Regions from separate parts of the Homo sapiens genome. Here region 1 is linked to region 2. Evidence: promoter capture Hi-C in 16 types of primary human blood cells and fetal thymus (Javierre and others, 2016). All regions are on one chromosome and are shown on one strand. Each heading gives the region's core, a stretch centred on a gene start or on the middle of the fragment in contact. The rest is flanking DNA. Distances are from core to core; before and after follow the strand shown.

Region 1 (6,543 bases), core at 2,668-5,167, 100 kb before region 2:
TAAAGCAAAAATTGTTACAGTGTGTTGTGTGTTTACAGAATATGTAGAGGTAAACTATGACAGCAATGGCACAGAGGATGGGAAGGAACTGGGAATACACTGTTGCAATTTCCTCAGGCAGCATGAAAAGTAGCCTAATAGGACTTCAAGGTAGACTCTGATTAATTAAATACGTATATTATAAACCCTAGGGCAAACACTAAAACTGCACAACAGCTTGCTGTTCAGTGTCTCGTTTTTATCCTCATAAGCAATCTCTTATATTTCATTAAGTGCACAATTTTAACAAATTGTATACTTTTCAAAGGAAGGCCTTTCACATAGATTGCCTCATTTGGTGTCTACTGCAATCCTGTAAATACGTATAGGTATCCTTATTCCCAGTTTATTTGTGAAGAAATGGCAGCTCAGTGCTTTAGGGACTTGCCTAAGGGACATGGTAAGTCAGTAACCATTATTCCTATGTAGAGTTCAATTAACTTTCTTAAAATGAGTTACTTCAAGACCCACTAAAATAATTCATAGCTGATTATCCATGTCTGAAAAGATTCTTTTAACTTTTTTGAGACCATAGATATATATATGTATATATATATAAAGATTAATGACTTAAACCACCCAGTATTATTCTATTTAGAAAGATGTCTGTATCAGTGCTGTAGTTTGGATGTTTGTCCCCCAAACTTCACGTTGAAATCTGATCCCCAGTGTCGGAGATGGGGCCTAGTGGGAGGTGTCTGGGTCATGTGGGTGGACTGTGCATGAACAGATTCATGCCCTGCGGCGGGGAGTGAGTAACCTCTCCCTCTATTATTTCTTTAAGAGCTGGTTGTTTAAAAGAGCCTGGCACCTCCGCCCACCTGTACTTCCTTTCTTGCCATGTGATCTGCACACATCGGCTCCCCTTTGCCTTTTGCTGAGTGGAAGCAGCCTGGCCCTCTCCAGCAGCAGATGCTGGCACCATGCTTCTTGTGCAGCTTGCAGAACTGTAAGCTAAATAAACCTTGTTGTTAAATAAATCACCCAGCCTCAGGTATTCCTTTATTGCAACAGTAAACGGACTAAGACAGGCTGCTGAGTGGTGTGCTCAGTTAAACTGGAAGTTTTTGCTCACAAGGGACTCACTGGGAGAGAGCTAACATCGAATCTCGCCTCTGTAATAAAGGCAAATGCTTCATTAAGCGGGGAGAGCACACTGTTTTGTCCCTGAATCTTAGTGGAACTCAGGCCTGCTTGGAGAGAAAGCAGGGAAAGGCTTGAGGAAGCAGATGACAGCCACGGGCACAGGTCAGTGGTGACGCTTCTTGATCAATTATTTATAAAATGTAAATCTGGGGAAAATAAAACTTTTTCTAAGTAGAAAGAATGCAGAAACAAAAGAGGGGAGAAACCTCCAGTGTTAGTTAACCAGAAGACTACCAGAAAAGCACCAAGCACCACAAAATCCCAGTTTAAAAGAGCTGCTGGAAGTCCACGTAACCCAGAATGAAAGACAGGCTGCTGAGCCCCTCGCACGTACGTCTGTTCACCTGTAGATGCTTCCAGCAACCAACAGGTCCTCTCTTTAGAATCTCCTCATGCAGCGTACCCCTTCCTGGGCCCCACATCACTTCTGCTCACCCGCTTTGTGAAGACAGTGAAGGGACACTCCTTCTGCCCACAAGCTCCTCTGTGTCCACACCTCTCAGGTCTCTCATGGTCAGGGTCACCCCTCCCCTCAATGCTTAGAGCCCAATCCCCCTGCCTACTGAGGAACCTCGTGTCATCAGTGGCCCTGCACTGTCAGGTCTCACTGGACAGGCGTCCCCATGACTCCGCGGCTCCTGTTACTGCACTGTCTGTGCTCCTTCTTTCCCCTTCACCGCCAAACTCAACTTCTGTCCCTCGGCACAGCGCACAGTCCTTCAGCCCCGCACACCTGACGGCAACTGTTCTTGTCAAGTTTTGCAGTGCCCTCCTCACTGCCAAGTTCAACAGAACTTTTTATCCTTCATCTGTCCTGTCCTCTTCAAAGCATCCGATATCGCTGAACTCCACCTGGAACGCCACAGCGTCTCTCCCTTTGGCTTCTGGGACAGCATTTGCTTTGGATTTTCATAAATTTCTCTGGCTGCTCCTTTCCAATCTCTTCTCCTTCCACTAATTTCTGCAAAATGAATATTTTGGTTCCTTCTATGAGTTCCTTTCATTCTGTGCACAGTCCTGCAGCGTCCTCCATGGCCCTGCCTCCCACCTCCTCATTCACACCCAGGTATATACATCTTCAGCCCAGCCCTTTTCAAGTCCCAGTGCCTGTGATGACACACACCTCAAATCCAACCTGTCCCCTTTCCATCCCAACTGGTTGTCTCTCTGCGTTCCTGTCTCAGTGATGGCCCATCGCCCAGGCACCCGTACTAGAAACCTGACAGCCGTGCGAGGTGCCTGTTGCTCCACGGCGTCTCATGAACCGGCCACCAGGCCCGGCCACTCTCTACTTGCTCCGTTTTTTTCAGGTGTGTGCCCTCCACTCCTTCTCCACTGCTGCTGCTTTACTTCAGAGTCACCCCTCTCACCTCCAATCTCTGCAACCCAAGGCTCTTCAACGTTTTTACCGTGGACCCAGCTGGCAGCCTGGTGAAGCCTAAAGTCTCCTCCTCAATGTTAATTCTGGGATATCCACAACAATTCTAACGGGAAATGGAGAGATGTGTGTGATTACTTTTTATTCTTTCATTCCATACTTCCTTTCAAAAAGATCCGTGATTTCTGTTGGGCTTGTTGCCTATGTTTATAACCGGAGGACATGCTAAATTTTAGTGGAAAGTTAGTGACCATAAAGATGCGTCTCTTTCCTATTCTGGTTTGGCAATTCCCTGATTTCAGTCTACAGACCATTAACCCCAGGTTAATCCATTCGATTCTAATGGCTCCTAATCCATTCTCTATCTTGAAGCCAGAATAATCTTTTGAAAAAGGGAATCTAAACTTTCATGATAAAATCAGGATTAAAGTATCAATTCCTTAAAATTATTCTTTCCCCTCATACCTAAGCTTCTCAAATGAGCCATGCTCCTTTCTTCATGATACTTTTTTTTTTTTGCCTGAAACTTCCTTTCTCTCCTTTTCCACATTCCAGTTCTTGTCCATCCTTTGAGATTTTTCTCAGCAGGACTTTCACTTTCACAGCCTTCCCTGAATTCTCAAGCCAAGGCATGTGCCTTGCACGTTCCTGTTCCCTGACAGCCTACGTGCAAAAGCCCTGTGGGCACTTTCCACGCTGTTATAAAGGACAGCACTTGTCTAGGTCCCCCCACTGCACTGAGAACCCCTTCAAGGAACATCTGATTTGTTGCTGGATGTTCAACATTTAGAGCAAGGTCTGACTTAGGAGTCTGCTGAAGGAATCGTGGACTTGGGAAGTGTCATCAACGTGGGCTCCACTGAAAGAAGGTAACTTGTAGCAGAATTAAACTGTTTTGCATTTAAGCAGAAGAGGGTAAATATGGGATTATTACAAATGAGCTAGCATCATCCCATATTCATTGCTTCCTGGGTTGCAAATGTTTAAGAAACTTCCTAAATGATTTGGGCAGAAGATAAACTCTCTACCTATTACCACCTGGCTTCTGAATTTGAAGTTCTAGCTTTATTTTTTGGTATTTAGGGACACTCTCCCTGAGGGTTTATTTGTGGCAAACCTGTGGGTGGATACTACGTTCCTATAAAACAAAGATGAAATGTTTTGAAACTGGCTTGCATCGAAGATTACACCTCCCTTCCTTAGCTATAGTTCGGGCTTTGGAAACACTTAACTCCCCCTATAAACATATTTTTTTTAATAGGGTTAAAGACAGCTCATCAGAGACTGTCCTTAGTCATTTCTCCTCCGCTGCTGATGCTGCAGGCCGGGGACTAAGATAAACAGAGCATCTAGGTCAAATCCCCCGCGGGCAGCAGGCAGGAGCCACAATCAGGCCAGCTGCTCTCTCACTTGATGCCCAGGCCTGCAAGGCTGTGTCCCTGCCCCACCCAGGGCTATCAGCTCAGCATCACTGCTTGCTGTGGCCAGGTGGAAATGCAGGGGAACTTGTGGGTACCAGGAGAGCTGGAGTTTTTTTTTTTTTTTTTTGACACATCAAGTCTTTTTCATCTTTTATCAAGACCATGTGACAGGGGTCTCCTTTCCAGGCAATTCTTTTCCTTTCATGACCAGGCCAATCCCTACAAAATTTTACTTACTTTATGGTTTGCCTCAAAATAGAGTCTAGGAAATAGATTACCAAGGATACACAGACCTTCCCTCCCTCCTCATGATCAAGGGGCTGGAAGAAACCTCGAGAGACGCTCTCAGCAGCAGATACCATGTAGGAAGTCACATGACATTCAATGGTTTCCAAGGAAGAAACACTTAGGAAAGGATGTTTCTTGTTATGTCTGATCTTAACTCCTATGGCTGTGGTGTAAGACTTCAGAGGGGGCTTCCCTCTGTGGTGTGAGGTGGAGGCAGGAAACCCGGGCTCTCTTCCTGCCCTAGCACTACATGGCTCTGTGATCTGAGCTGAGCTGTTTCTTCTGGGCCTCAGTTTCCTTTGATATAAATAAGGAGACTGAAATGTATTAGAATTCTTGGGCATGCAGTGGGAGGTCTCCAAGTTCTTTTGATATTTTGAAAAATCTCAATGAAAGCATGCATTTACCTTTTTCAAAGACAACTAAACCACAGTCTGCTTTTGCTTTGCTCCTGTCTAGAGTTATGTCAGCTCAGTGTGATGACAGCTTCAGCCTGGCCGTCCTCTGATGCAGCTAAATACAAGCTTGTTTAATGCAGAATGGGAGAATACATGCTGCTCTGAAAATGCTGCTTGGTGGGGGCCGTACTGCATACTTGGGAGAGGGGACATCAGGGAAAATGGGGACTCTGCACTTTAAGAAGAGACACAAGCAGCCACTCCTCTCTTTTTTTCCTGGACAAGAAGCCCATGGTTCTGAATCTCTCTGTGCCCGCTCCCCCGCCACATATCCTGGACAGCAGAGACACACAGTCAGGATCGAGGGAGACCTGGGAGGGTGGTACCTGTTCCAGACGGCACTTGAGCACGGCCCACTCCACGTCCCAGGCCGCCTTGTCGCTGGCATATTGCTGCTGCAGCCGTAGTCGGGCACGCTCATCCTCCCGCAGCTCCGCACGGAAGTCCTCCAGCAAGGCCTTGAAGGCGCTGAACAGCTGCTGGTTTTCCACCACCTGCGGGAACACTGAGTCAGGCTCCACCACCTCCTTTAAGCGTATTTTTTAGGTCAGAAGAGGAGAGGATCTGGCTATCAAGGTAGTGTGGGGGCTGTTTCCCAGGTGTTGTTGGCAGTGGGTGCAGGGTGGGTGGGGAGTCTGCAGTTAGCCGGGGAGCAAAGAAAGGGTCCCTGTTGCTGGCCATCGGTCTCCTGGGCCTGAGACTGAGGGCCTGTTTGATCAGGAGGAGGGTAGAAGGAAGGCTGCCCTGGTGACCTGGCAGCTGTGTTCAGACGCCGGAACCTGGGCTGGCACTGTGGGAACCTGCCACAGAGGTGCTGTGGGCCCTGAGGAGCAGGAGCAAGGAAACTGCAGGAGGCCACAGGGAACCCCAAAGCCAGGGCTGCCAGTCACTGTGTGACTTTAGATGTCCAGAACACTGAGTTGGGCTGACAAGACTGTCATGAGGGTGCAGATATGACAAGACCTACACACTCACCTACATATATGCTGCCATTCTAGTGCCAGATGTTGTACTAGAGGAGAATTAATAAAGACCGAGGACTCCTATGCACATAGGGTAATCAGACTCCGATTGGTGGTTACTAAAAGGTCACAGATATGACACACATGGCCACTGTGTGTGGGTGGGTTTAATTATTAAACATTTTGATGTTTAATAATTAAAGCCAAAGGTGAAATGCATAACCTGTTCAGGAAGGCTTTATTGTGGTCCCTTGAGATAGAACTATCAGCCCCCACTTTTCTGCCTCTTGGAAAGGACAAGCCAGACCCACCCTCACATTTCCAGTATTTGGCACAATCCTTGGCTCATGTTAAGCATGCAAATGTGTCTGGTAAATGAAGAGTGGATTTTTATTACTAATCTGCTTATATCTAACTTAAAATGGTTTATATGTTCTGAAACCTGCCCAGCCCTTTGAAGTCAAATTTCAAAGCCATGATTTCTGTCTTAGTACATTTCAGCAAGGGCATTATATCAGAAGGGTTTGGCCAAATGAATGAAACACGCTGAATCAATTATGGTACCTTGATAATAAAAGCCTCGTGAGCCCATCTCTTCCAACCAGCACGGAAAGCACATCACAAGCTCTCAGGGCGGTCTCAGGGCATTCTTTTTTGGTGCATGTATGAAGCAAGAGTTATAAAAGCTCTCTAAGTCCCACTGGACATAGATAAGCTCTACTATGGAAAAACAGAGCCCCACCCTCTCAGAATTCCTCATCCCCCAAACTTGATAAACCTCTCCTCCCTGGTTCAGCAAGTACACTGGGACCCCTCCTTCAGGTTCTACACACACACTGGCCTTCACTCCA
Region 2 (6,374 bases), core at 843-3,342:
TGGAGTTGTTTACTAACCTGAAGATCACAATAAATAAAACAGTTGGTGTCAATACAACTCCCCTTATTTTCTCTCAAGTCACCTGGATCGTCCTGACCCCGGGAACCCCGTCTGCAGCACCAGGCCCCCTCCGTGGAGAAAAGATGGAGCCGGATTAAGCACCCAGTGCTAAGGCGACTAAGACGCCACTGCCCGCAGGCCCTGCCGGAAAATACTCAGAGAGTGCAGCAGGCGCCGCGATTCCTTAGAAAGTGCTGGCGTGGCCTCTCCTGACACAGAAAGCCGGCTCCTGGATGCTTACAAAGGACTGGCCCGCGCAACACCGTTGCTCCTCAACCCGGGCCACACTCCAAGGACCTCTACTGAGCTTCAGCTTGCTCACCGAAAACGGCGCGGCCCCCTCTACCCGGGATGTCGGAGCCCAGGAGACCCTGAGAGCCCCCAGCTCTTTCCGTAATTGCAGGAGAAGGGGCAAGCGGGTCCGTAGCCGGGGGCCCTCCAGTGGCATTATCCTGAACCGCCACGCCCGCACGTGGCCCGGCTAGAGCTCCCTGGCGAAGGATCACCTGTTCCTACAGGTGAGGCTGGCACGTTCTGAGCGGGGATGGGGGCGTCCGCTGATGTCCCCAAAACGATTACAGCCTCCTCTGCCCCAACAGGTCAACAAAAGTAAAAGTATCAGCGAAGAGACGCAAGAGTTCTAGACGCGAGAAAAGAGAAGTGGGTTGCGAACTGGCGGGGTCCCACAGGTCTTGCTTCTCCTTCCAGAAGTTTGGGCTTAAGTTGCCAATGCCTGACAATGCGGGGGTAGGACCGTGGAGAGCAGGAGGGAGAAGGCGCTGGACAGGCCCGGGAAGGAGGGGTTGGCGGGTCCCCGCCGCAGCCAGGCCCTCCGGGGGCGCCCCGGGACACCTGCGGCCGAGGCGCGGCTCACCTTGAGATAGTCGTTCTCCGAGCGCAGCTCCTCCATCTCCCGCAGCAGCTCTTCTTCCTCCGCCGCTGGCACGAGCCGAGACTGCTCGCCCAGGCTGGGCTCCTTGGGGGTCCCGGGGACTGGTCGCTCCGGTGGCGAGCGCCCCCGGACATCCTCCGCCACGCCGGGCCCCGCGAAACCCCCCGAAACCCCGCTCGGGATGCTCCGGCCCCCGGGACAGGCGCCCGCGGCGAGGGGCGCGGCGAGGAGCGCTGGGGGCTCGGGGCTGCCCGGCGGCGCTCCTCGGGCTGCGGGGCTCGGCGTCGGCGCTCCTCGTGGGGGTTCACGGTCGCTGGAGCCCGTGCCGGATTCGGCGTCGCTGCTGGCGGCAGGGAGCAGGCGCTGCTCGTCGGACAGGGGTTCGGAGGGGCAGTCAGAGAGGTCGGAGCTGCTGTCCGTGTGGCTGATGCGCGAGCAGCGGGCCGGGGACCCGGCCACCGAGGTCACCGCGAGGGTCACGGCAGGGATCCGGGCGGCCGGGGTCGGGGGGCCGACGGTGCGGGCGGGTGGCGCCCGGGAGCCGCGCTTGGCTTTGCGGCCCTTGGCAGCGGCAGACGGCGGCTCGGCTCCGGGAGGCTTCCCAGCCCGGGACAGCGGCTCCGCGGGCGCCACGCGCGCCGCCCTCCTGCTTCCCAGGGCAGCCTTGGCACCGCCCGCCGCTCTGGCCCCGGCGCCCGGCGGGGGCTTGTCCTTCGCGCCCGGGACGCCGCCACTGCGCCGAGAGAGGCGGCCGGGCGCGGCCAGGGACCCCGGCGAGGGCGGCGCTTTGCCCGCGAGGTTGGGCGAGCGCGGGGCGGCGGGAGCCGGGGCTCGGCCCGAGGAGGGGACGGCCGGGCCGGGCGCGGCGGGCCGGGCGTGCAGGTCCTTGAGGAAGGGTCTGGCGGGCGAGGGCGCACGGTGCAGCCGCCGCCTTTCGGCCACCGGGTGGAGGTGGTGGTGGCGGTGGTGCTGGCCGGGCGGCTGCAGCTTCGCGTCCGGGGCACCTCCGCCCGCGGGGCCGTTCAGTGTCTCCATGGCCGGGTCCGCCGGCAGCAGCTCAGGCAGCAGATGCTCCGGACGACGACGGCGGCGGCGGCGGCGGCGGCGGCGTGCAGCCTCCCCGCGCGCTCTCTCATCACTGTCCCAGCCCCGCCCGGGCTGCGCCCCGCGCTCCCGCCGTCCCCGCCCCCCGCACCCCGGCCCCGAGGATTCCCGCGGGGCTCGCCGCCGCCGCGCTCGCCCCTCGCTGAGGTCACCGCGGATCGAGTTCTCCCGGCTCAGCAGCGCGGCGGCTCCCGGCCGCTCGCATCCCCGGACCTCGCGCTCCGGGCTCGCGGTCACCGGTGCCGCGGCGGCGCTGGCGGCGCGCGCCCGGCTCCCGCGTCCCGCTCCCCGCCCACCGCCGGCCCGCTGCTGCCCGTGCCCGCCCCCGCCGCTCCCGGCTGAGAGAAGCCGCACGCGCGCGCCCCACCTCCCCGCCGCCCAGCGCCCTCGCCCAGGCCCGTGCGCATGCCCCGCCTCCAGCCAGCCGGCGCCGTGCAGGGGAGGGGCGAGGGAAGGGGCGGGGGCTTGCGCTCCCCGGGGGGCGGGCGCCCGGCAGGGGCGGGACCTGCGCGCCCTTGGGAGCAGGCGCAGGCTGGATCCATGGGGCCTCGCTGCCCGGGGACCCTCCTTGCTTTTTGAGGCCCTAGAGACGCTGCCAGGAGCTAGGGAGGAAGGGAAGAGGCGGAGGTGAAGTGGTGGCAAGGGGCGGCGCCGGCCACTTGGGGAAGGCGTGTGCCGCGGCTGACAACACCCCTCTCATGCCTCTCCATCCACCGCCCGCCTCCCCGAGGCCAGTCACCTCCCTCGCTGTCCTCTCCAAGCTGTGCCCCTGGTCCCCGAGCTCCTTTAAGGATCGCTGGTACCCGACGCAGCTCTCGCGTCTAAACGGCACGGCGGGCGCTCCACAGTTGGCACCCCCGTGGCCTCGGGAGCTCAGGAGGAGCTGCTGCCCAAACAGGAGGAGCCCTCGCCAAACCTGGGGGTCAGAAAGGGAACTCACATTTATAGTTCCGGCTGCGAGCCAGGCCTGCTGGCCACTTACTGAGCAGTGTTTTATTTAAGCCTCACCACAGTCCCAGATTGGAATTGCTGTCTTCGGTGAAGACTAGGGCACCGGCGCTGGGAGGTGAAGTCACTTGCCTGCGATGCCTCACCCAGTCCCTAGCTGAGCGGGTTTAAACCCAGGTCTTCAGGATTCCGAGTCCTGCAGGCTTTCCGCTCAGAGCCCGGAGCCCGGCCACCGGTTCTACCACTTGAGTCTCCCATGCGCAAGGCACTAGACCTTTCTGAGCCCCAGTTCCCTCGCCTGTATCATTAAAACGTACTGCCACCTGAGCATGTGTGAAGATTTAGCAAATACCAGAACACACCGTGCAAACTGTAAAGTACAGTTCACATACCATTGGGTGCAGTTTATGTCCCAGGCGTTGGATGTTGGCCAGTGCCCATAGGAATAGGGGCCAGCCTGTCCTCCAGCCCTGGCGTTGCAGGAGGCAGAGGGTCAGGTAATAATTACAAGGAGGAGGGCGGGAGCATAACCCTGCCTGGTGAGGCTCGCATTTTCCTGGAAGGACGGGTTGGTCTCTCAGCTGAGGGCCCAGGACACAGTAGAGCCTGCAGAGAGCAGGGCCCCTGGGCGGGGAGGCAGGTAGGTTAGGGATTAGAGGGGAGACTGGAGGGTGTGTGGCACCAAATATCCTACCAAGGCCGTTGGGCATTATCCTAGAGGCGGTAGCCACGGGGTATTCTGAGCAAGATGATCTGATGTGCTCAAAAAGACCCCGGGGGCAGCAACCTGGAGGAGAGGGAGGTGGGCCACGGGAGCTGCGAGCGGCTGTGGCAGTATGCGCGGTGAGGGGGCCTTGGGAGCAGGGACAGAGAAGAGGGGGCCGACTCGCAAAAATAGGAGGAAAAAATCGACTCCAAAGTCTGTGATCTTAACCACAGATTTACCCTACTTAGCCATCTCCTTCAAAAAATGCAGGATGAACCCTTTTGTTGTAATCCCTACGTCAGGAGAGCCCTGCCCCGAAGTCGTCCTGCCTCGCCCTGGCTGAGCTCTGGGGGCACTGAGACCTCGCCTGCTCTGCTGCTGTTGTGGTCTTTGTGAGTCGTTTTTCTGGGAATGCCTCTGAATGGGAGACAGCACGCACGAAATCCAATCTCTACGAAATCCAATTCCTTAATCTCCTTTGAGGCTAATGCCCTAGCCGTTTCTCCAGCGTTGGGAGAAGGACACTGTTGGCTCCACGGTGGGCGTGGATGACGGCACACCTCGAAAGGCTTGAGAGGTGTTGGCCACCGCTCGCGCCGGGCCTGCTGTCCCCAGAGGGCCCTCTAGCTCTGCCCTTCCGTGGGAGGGGGCCCGCGGTCGGGCCAGAGCACAACTGACCTCTGCCTAGAACTTCCTCCAGAGGCTCTGAAGCCTCCCACACCCTCACATTTCCGAAGAATTATGGCCAGGACTCTCAGCACAAGCTTGCCAGCTTCTCATACCATATACACTCAAAGAAAGGGCCCCCCAAAAAAGTTTCAATACGCTAGTCTTCTAAAGACAGTAGCTTGATGACTATAGGATTTGCAGCCAGCTTCTCTTTCTTTCAGGTAATAAGTCAGATAAAATTCATCCTCCTTACTACTTATTATTAGCCTGGCAAATGAGACTACTAGCCCTTTGTAAGGAAGTATTCAATCAATGCTTTCTCTTTTTTTTTCTTTTTTCTTCCTTTTTTTTTTTAAGAGATGGGGTCTTGCTATGTTGCCCAGACTGAAGTCAAACTTCCTGGGCTTAAGCCATCTTCCCACCTCAGCCTCCCAAGTAGCTGGGACTACAGGCATGCACCACCCAGCCCAGCCAATAATGCCTTCTTTGTTTTCCAGTATTCAGTGAGTTACAGGTATAAAGAGATATCTGATTGCATAATAGATGTTTTTTAAAGTCACTCAAAAAAAAAAAGAAAAGAAAAGAAAAAGAAAAAGTGGTCCAGGCGTGGTGGCTCACGCCTGTAATCCCAGCATTTTGGGAGGCCAAGGTGGGCAGATAGCTTGAGCTCAGGAGTTGGAGATCAGCCTGGGCAACATGGCAAAATCCTGTCTCTACCAAAAAAACACAAAAATACAAAAATAAGCTGGGCATGGTGGCATACACCTGTAGTTCCAGCTACTTGAGAGGCTGAGGCAGGAGGCTCCCTCAAGCCCAGGAGGGGAGGTTGCAGTGAGCCATGATCATGCCACTGCACTCCAGCCTGGGTGATGGGAGTGAAACCCTGTCTCAAAAAAATGGGAAGGAAGGAAGGGAGGGAAGGAGGCAGGGAGGGAGGGAGGGAAAGAAGGGAAGGGAAGGGAGGAAGGGAAGGAGGGAGCAAAGAAAGGAAATACTTGATTTTAAATTCTTTTTCTGTTAAATCAAATTAATCTAAAGGTAATAGAGGATTTACTATTTAAGGGAACCATAGAGTGCTTATTCTGTGAAATAACAAAACCCAGCATGGGCGTGCCTGTTTTCATCTGCGTGCCCTCAGATCCAGTCTTGCCCCTCTGCTACTCTGATGTGAGTGGAAGTGTGGGTTTCCAGGCCGCTGGGTTTGCTGATTGGGTTTGGCCAGTGGAGGTGCCGTCAGGAGATGGGAGTGGACCCAGAAGGAAGAAACCAGGTTATTTCTTACTCTCTCTGCTGCAGGCGGCTTCTCTGGCAGTGGCTGGGTCTCTGTGAGGAGTGGATTTCTGAGGTTCCAGCCATCACTGGATGGACTACTCCTCCTGGTAGCTTTTCGTCCTCCACTGCCTCGTATCAAGGGTGGTGGTGCCTTCCTGTGCTTGCAGATCTCCGGGTTGCTTCACTGTGGCTGATTCCCTGCATTGCAACCCTGGATTGTAAATGCTGGCACAAGGCCCAGGGCCCCATCGTCTCATTCCTCTGCAGAGGCCCAAATACTGTCCTAGGGAGCTGCGTGCAGCAGTGGTGTGATGAGTAATGTTTGTGTGGCTGTGTTCACAACCTCTTTGTCCAAGAACGGTGTGGTATGGTGACAAGACCTGAGGCTTTGACACCAGGTAAATCTGGGTTCAAATCCTGCCCAAGTCATTTGCTGTCTGTGTGGCCTTGGGTAAGGTATTGTTATCAAGTCATCATCATCATTTAACACCAGTGAAATAATCTTCAGAATCATCATCATTATTTAACACCAGTGAAATAATCTTCAAAACTCTTAAAATATGAGCAAACCAGATTTTTCACTCAGATTCCAAACTCTCACTCAGAGAGTTAGAAATCTATTCTGTGTCTATACAGTTATATAAAGAGAAATGAATTCTTTTTTTACTTGGTTTGACTCATAGACAAAAAAAAAAATGTGACTTACTCAGGACTATACTTCAC

Evidence for each region. The method cuts DNA at HindIII sites, captures the fragments that hold promoters and counts their contacts. A CHiCAGO score of 5 or more calls a contact.
Region 1: a contact is called between a fragment that was not itself captured here and the fragment with the promoter of MTCL1 in region 2, in 1 of 17 cell types (endothelial precursors). The highest score is 5.2, in endothelial precursors.

What each region holds. Positions count from the first base shown.
Region 1 is chr18:8,805,574-8,812,116 of GRCh38, reverse strand. It overlaps MTCL1 (microtubule crosslinking factor 1), which reads right to left. Exons shown (of 15, transcript NM_001395333.1): 10 at 5,057-5,224. Among named protein-coding and RNA genes, the nearest start is that of GACAT2, 100 kb to the right of the region's middle. The HindIII fragment of the contact is 1,763 bases long and covers 3,036-4,798 here.
Region 2 is chr18:8,701,274-8,707,647 of GRCh38, reverse strand. It overlaps MTCL1 (microtubule crosslinking factor 1), which reads right to left and starts at 2,092. Exons shown (of 15, transcript NM_001395333.1): 1 at 935-2,092. The coding sequence starts at 1,987. GACAT2 (gastric cancer associated transcript 2) reads left to right here and starts at 27. Exons shown (of 2, transcript NR_120598.1): 1 at 27-578. RefSeq lists silencers at 1,868-1,927, 2,308-2,747. The HindIII fragment of the contact is 5,801 bases long and covers 1-4,476 here.